Linked DNA regions of Homo sapiens: region 2 is linked to region 1. Evidence: promoter capture Hi-C in human tissues and cell types (Jung and others, 2019). All regions are on one chromosome and are shown on one strand. Each heading gives the region's core, a stretch centred on a gene start or on the middle of the fragment in contact. The rest is flanking DNA. Distances are from core to core; before and after follow the strand shown.

Evidence for each region. The method cuts DNA at HindIII sites, captures the fragments that hold promoters and counts their contacts. A contact is called where the count stands out against the background at its distance.
Region 2: a fragment that was not itself captured here is called in contact with the fragment with the promoter of CFHR5 in region 1 in 1 of the 25 tissues and cell types used here (adrenal gland).

What each region holds. Positions count from the first base shown.
Region 1 is chr1:196,976,287-196,979,696 of GRCh38, forward strand. CFHR5 (complement factor H related 5) reads left to right here and starts at 1,270. Exons shown (of 10, transcript NM_030787.4): 1 at 1,270-1,436. The coding sequence starts at 1,379. The HindIII fragment of the contact is 10,428 bases long and covers 1-3,110 here.
Region 2 is chr1:196,937,966-196,941,316 of GRCh38, forward strand. No RefSeq gene overlaps it. Among named protein-coding and RNA genes, the nearest start is that of CFHR2, 4.1 kb to the right of the region's middle. The HindIII fragment of the contact is 3,455 bases long and covers 1-3,083 here.

The sequences.
Region 1 (3,410 bases), core at 20-2,519:
ATTAAATGTTAAATTTCTCTCAGGCTGGGCACTTTGTTGCTTGCTTCAGCTAGTATCCTCTAGTCTTCTCTGATTGTTTCCCACTGTAATCTCTTTGTATTCAATAGGATCCTCGGGCATGGACCTTTCCAAGCTATAAAGTCACTCTTCTCCAGCAGGGGAGCAGAGCTTCCAGTCCACATAGCCTGCCTGCCCATCCAGGGTTCAACTTCTGAGCCACGGAATTGGGCTGCGAGACAGAGGTGGATGAAAGCATCCGCTCTCTTTTACTGAATTTTATGGAGACTTTCTGGAAAAAATATTTCCCAACATTATGCTGTTTGGCCAATTTCCAGAGACAACCAATGGTTACTTTTAAATTTTTATCCAGTTTTATTGCTGCCTTTTGGTTGGGAGTGAATATACCAAGACCCTCACATAGCCATTCTCGAAGTCCCACCTGAACAAAATGATTTTGAATTATAATTCTGTTCTTCAAACATTTCAGGAAACGTTACTTGGCAAAAATTATTCTTTTTTTTTTTTTTTTTTTTTTTGAGACAGAGTCTCGCTCTGTCGCCCAGGCTGGAGTGCAGTGGCGCGATCTCCACTCACGGCAAGCTCTGCCTCCCGGTTTTACGCCATTCTCCTGCCTCAGCCTCCCGAGTAGCTGGGACTACAGGCGCCCGCCACCACGCCTGGCTAAATTTTTTTTGTATTTTTCAGTAGAGACGGGTTTCACCGTGTTAGCCAGGATGGTCTCGATCTCCTGACCTTGTGATCCACCCGCCTCGGCCTCCCAAAGTGCTGGGATTACAGGCTTGAGCCATTGCGCCCGGCCAGCAAAAATAATTCTTGATTAGACCTTTTATAGTTTATGAAATATTAAAACTGTTAAGAAGGTACCTAATTCTTAGTGCCAGTTTTAAAAGGGAATTTACAACTACAAAAGTGATATTGTTGTATTAAGATGAGGACTGATGACTTGCACTTGCTTGCCTTTTGAAACAGCTGAACCCTTGGCTAGAAAAAAAAAAAAAACCCAGGGGGCCGGCGGTGGGGAGCTTCCTCTCTCCTCTAAACAGTCCATTTCTGATTGTTCCAAACTCAGAGACTCGGTGACTACAACAAGGAAATTGAACAGCAGTTATTTTGCTTAAATAAATATTACATAACGAGCTGAGAATATTATTGTGAAGACACTGATTAGATACTATTTGCTTATTTCACACAACCCTCCATGAACTTTGATGTTTTCCACAAAGGGCTTTACTAAACTAGCTTCCCCTTAGTACATTGAAATTCAAAGTCATGCTTGTAACTGTTAATGAAAGCAGATTTAAAGCAACACCACCATCACTGGAGTATTTTTAGTTATATACGATTGAGACTACCAAGCATGTTGCTCTTATTCAGTGTAATCCTAATCTCATGGGTATCCACTGTTGGGGGAGAAGGTAAGTTGAAAACAGATCCGAATATTTTAGTTCCTTTTCAAATGTATTTATTGATTGTGTGTGTGTATGCATACAAATATTTTTAAATGAATAAATAGCTGAGGATAATTTGAAGGGGTATCACAATATTCATCTATTTTCTGGAAATATTTTCCAACATGCAATTAGCAGGAAAATTGAATGAAATTAATTCTCTCCGTTCTCTAGTTTGCTAAGGGTAAATGGTCACCAAATAGATAATGTAAAGAGAAATCAAAGGAGAGAAAATCTGCTATAATAAAGATGACAAGGTGAAATATTAGTGTAATTCTGCATAAACTCTGCAATGCCACTGACTAGAAAAATCAACCCCAAAAGATTTGGCCACCTTCATTATGTTTTGAGAATTTTATTTTCATAGATTTGATAATTTACATTTTAAATGTTATTAAAATGAAGGAATTCTCATTTCAGCCTAATTATCATTCAACAGGGAAATATATTTTAATGAAACAATAGAAAATATTATTTTTATATATAAACCAGTGAACTGCCAAAAAATTGTTTCTTCTGAGCTCTTCCACAAATTTCAAAAGTGAAATAATATATCACTTCTTTATTAATACTATAAACTGATTCTTATAACATTATAAACTATCCCATTTTATTTCATGTGGAAATTAAAGCCACTATATCAAAAGGATTGCAAACAAAATCTCTAACAAGGTCTAGGATACTGATTAAACTATGTGTGTACGTGAAGTTTCAATCATTGTGCTATATACTCTTTGATTTCCAGAAAGTTTTTATTTTACTGCTTTACTGCTTTCTAATGTTTACAGATCTTTAAATTTTTTGAACACTTTCTTCTCAGTCCTGACATAAGAGAAAAATATGAACCATAAAATGCTTTCTTTTTAAGATATGCCCTTACAAATGTTGCAAAACATTATTTCTATGGGCCTAAAATTCATTTTATTTTGTTTTCACTTTTAGTACTGAGCTATAATCACAAGAGTGCGATTGCATGAGTGTATTTGATTTTTCTTAAGTCTGTGTTTATGATATTTATTAAGTGGCTTAAACATCTGTTACAAATGGCATTACACAAGGATTTCTAAAGGGGGGTGGAAGCAGAGGAAGATAAGTGAAAATTATGAGGATAATATGTAGAATTTTGACAATTCCTAACCCCACAAAACTTTCAAGCTTCAGTCCAGTCCCAGGATAAACTTTAGTGAAATTCTATTAAAAGTTGTCTAGGTGTTAAATGACCTGTAAGTGTGCATTACACTTTTGTTTTGGTGTCTATTTAGAAACTGGCCAAACAGCAGAAATAACAGACGAAAGCAACACTTTTGTACAAATAGAAAACTGCATGCTTCCAGTAGCAAAACATGAATCAAGCAATATATTGTGCTTCATGCTGTAGCAAAGAAGCTGGAAAGAATATGACAACGCCACCCACCCCTCACTACTACTTAGAGTGTCCTAAAAGAAAAGCAAAATGTAAATAGGCAAATAAATTGCAAGGTTTTATATATAGGTAATTGTCTGTGTGTGTGTGTGTGTGTGTGTGTGTGTGTACACTCATACATCACTTAATGATAGGAAAACGTTCTGAGAAGTGTGTCTATAGGCAATTTCGTCCTCCTGCAAACATCATAGAGTGTACTTACACAAACCTAGATTGTATAGCCTACTACCTAACTAAGCTATACGGCCTGTCACTCCTAGACTGCAAACCTGTACAGCATGTTACTGTACTGAATACTGTGGGCAACTGTAGCACAAATGTAAGAATGTGTTTACCTAAACATATAAAAGGTACAATAAAAATACAATATAAAATATTAAGAATGGCAGACTTGTATAGGGCTCTTACCGTCAATAGGGTTTGCAGGACTGAAAGTTGTTCTGGGTAAGTCACTGAGTGAGTGGTGTGCAAATATGAAGGCTTAGCACATTACCATACACTACTGTAAACTTCATGAA
Region 2 (3,351 bases), core at 106-2,605, 38 kb before region 1:
ACGGAAATCCCTGGCCAGAACTTCCAAAACTATGTTGAATAGGAGTGGTGAGAGAGGACATCCCTGTCGTGTGTCAGTTTTCAAAGGTAATGCTTCCAGTTTTTGCCCATTTAGAATGATATTCGCTGAGGATTTGTCATAAATAGCTCTTATTATTTTGAGATGTATTCCATCAATACCTAGTTCCCTGAGAGTTTTTAGCATGAAGGCTGTTGAATTTTGTTGAAGGCCTTTTCTGCATCTATTGAGATAATCATGTGGTTTTTGTCTTTGGTTCTGTTTATGTGGTGAAGTATGTTTATTGATTTGCATATGTTTAACCAGCCTTGCATCCTAGAGATGAGGCCGACTTGATCGTGGTGGATAAGCTTTTTGATGTGCTGCTGGATTCCGTTTGCCAGTATTTTATTGAGGATTTTTGCATCAATGTTCATCAGGGATATTGGTCTAAAATTCTATTTTTTTGTTGCGTCTCTGCCAGGTTTTGGTGTCAGGGTGATGTTGACCTCATAAAATGAGTTAGGGAGGAGTCCCGCTTTTTCTATTGATTGGAATAGTTTCAGAAGGAATGGTACCAGCTCCTCTTTGTACCTTTGGTAGAATTCAGCTGTAAATCCATCTGCTCCTGGACTTTTTTTGGTTGGTAGGACATTAATTATTGCCTCAATTTCAGAACCTGTTATTGGTCTATTCAGACATTCAAATTCTTCCTGGTTTAGTCTTGGGAGGATGTATGTGTTCAGGAATTTATCCATTTCTTCTAGATTGTCTAGTTTATTTGCGTAGAGGTGTTTATAGTATTCTCTGATGGTAGTTTGTATTTCTGTGGGATCGGTGGTGATATCCCCTTTATCATTTTTTATTGCGTCTATTTGATTCCTTTCTCTTTTCTTCTTTATTAGTATTGCTAGGGGTATGTTAATTTTGTTGATTCTTTCAAAAAACCAGTTCCTGGATTCCTTGATTTTTTGAAGGGTTTTTTGTGTGTCTATGTCCTTCAGTTCTGCTCTGATCTTAGTTATTTCTTGCCTTCTGCTAGCTTTTGAATTTGTTTGCTCTTGCTTGTCTACTTCTTTTAATTGTGAGGTTAAGGTGTCGATTTTAGATCTTTCCTGCTTTCTCTTGTGGGCATTTGATGCTATAAATTTCCCTCTCTATACTGCTTTAAATGTGTCCCAGAGATTCTGGTAAGTTGTGTCTTTGTTCTTCTTGGTTTCAAAGAACGTATTTATTTCTGCCTTCATTTCATTATTTGCCCAGTAGTCATTCAGGAGCAGGTTGTTCAGTTTCCTTGTAGTTGTGTGGTTTTGAGTGAGTTTCTTAATCCTGAGTTCTAATTTGATTGCACTGTGGTCTGAGAGACAGTTTGTTGTGATTTCTGTTCTTTTACGTTTGCTGAGGAGTGCTTTACTTCCAACTATGTGGTCAATTTTAGAATAAGTACGATGTGGTGCTGAGAAGAATGTATATTCTGTTGATTTGGGGTGGAGAGTTCTGTAGATTTCTATTAGGTCTGCTTGGTGTAGAGCTGAGTTCAAGTCCTGGATATCCTTCTCAACCATCTATCTCATTAATCTGTCTGATATTGACAGTGGGGTGTTAAAATCTCCCATTATTATTGTGTGGGAGTCTAAGCCTCTTTGTAGGTCTCTAAGGACTTGCTTAGAATCTGGGTGCTCCTGTATTGGGTGCATATATATTTAGGATAGTTAGCTCTTCTTGTTGAATTGATCCCTTTGCCATTATGTAATAGCCTTCTTTGTCTCTTTTGATCTTTGTTGGTTGAAAGTCTGTTTTATCAGAGACTAGGATTGCAACCCCTGCTTTTTTTTTGCTCTCCATTTGCTTGGTAGATATTCCTCCATCCTTTTATTCTGAGCCATGTGTGTCTCTGCACGTGAGATGGGTCTCCTGAATACAGCACGCTGATGGGTCTTGACTCTTTATCCAATTTGCCAGTCTGTGTCTTTTAATTGGGGCATTTAGCCCATTTACCTTTTAGGTTAATATTGTTATGTATGAATTTGATCCTGTCATTATGATGTTAGCTGGTTATTTTGCCCATTAATTGATGCAGTTTCTTCATAGCATCAATGGTCTTTACAATTTGGCATGTTTTTGCAGTGGCTGGTGTCAGTTGTTCCTTTCCATGTTTAGTGCTTCCTTCAGGAGCACTTGTAAGGCAGGCCTGGTGGTGACAAAATCTCTCAGCATTTGCTTGTCTGTAAAGGATTTTATTTCTCCTTCACTTATGAAGCTTAGTTTGGCTGGATATGAAATTCTGGGTTGAAAATTCTTTTAAGATTGTTGCGTATTGGCCCCCACTGTCTTCTGGCTTATAGATTTTCTGCTGAGAGATCCGCTGTTAGTCTGATGGGCTTCCCCTTGTGGGTAACCTGGCCTTTCTCTCTGGCTGCCCTTAACATTTTTTCCTTCATTTCACCCTTAGTGAATCTGACAGTTATGTGTCTTAGGGTTGCTCTTCTCAAGGAGTATCTTTGTGATGTTCTCTGTATTTCCTGAATTTGAATGTTGGCCTGCCATGCTAGGTTGGAGAAGTTCTCCTGGATGATATCCTGAAGAGTATTTTCCAACTTGGTTCCATTCTCCCCGTCACTTTCAGGTACACCAATCAAACGTAGATTTTGTCTTTTCACATAGTCCCATATTTCTTGGAGGCTTTGTTCATTCATTTTTACTCTTTTTTCTCTAAACTTCTCTTCTCACTTTATTTCATTAATTTGATCTTCAATCACTGATATCCTTTCTTCCACTTGATTGCATCAGCTATTGAAGCTTGTGCATGTGTCACGAAGTTCTCGTGCCATGGTGTTTAGCTCCATCAGGTCATTTAAGGTCTTCTCTATGCTGTTTATTCTAGTTAGCCATTCATCTAATCTTTTCTGAAGATTTTTAGCTTCCTTGCAATGGGCTCAAACATCCTCCTTTAGCTCGGAGAAGTTTGTTATTATTGACCTTCTGAAGCCTACTTCTGTCAACTCGTCAAAGTCATTTTCTGTCCAGCTTTGTCCCACGATCTTTGGAGGAGAAGAGGTGCTCTGGTTTTTCAAATTTTCAGCTTTTCTGCTCTAGTTTCTCCCCATCTTTGTGGTTTTTATCTACCTTTGGTCTTTGATGTTGGTGACCTACAGATGGGGTTTTGGTGTGGATGTCCTTTTTGTTGTTGTTGATGCTATTCCTTTCTGTTTGTTAGTTTTCCTTCTAACAGTCAGGTCCCTCAGCTGCAGGTCTGTTGGATTTTGCTGGAGGTCCACTCCAGACCCTGTTTGCCTGGGTATCACCAGCAGAGGCTGCAGAATAGCAAATATTGCAGAACAGCAAATATTGCTG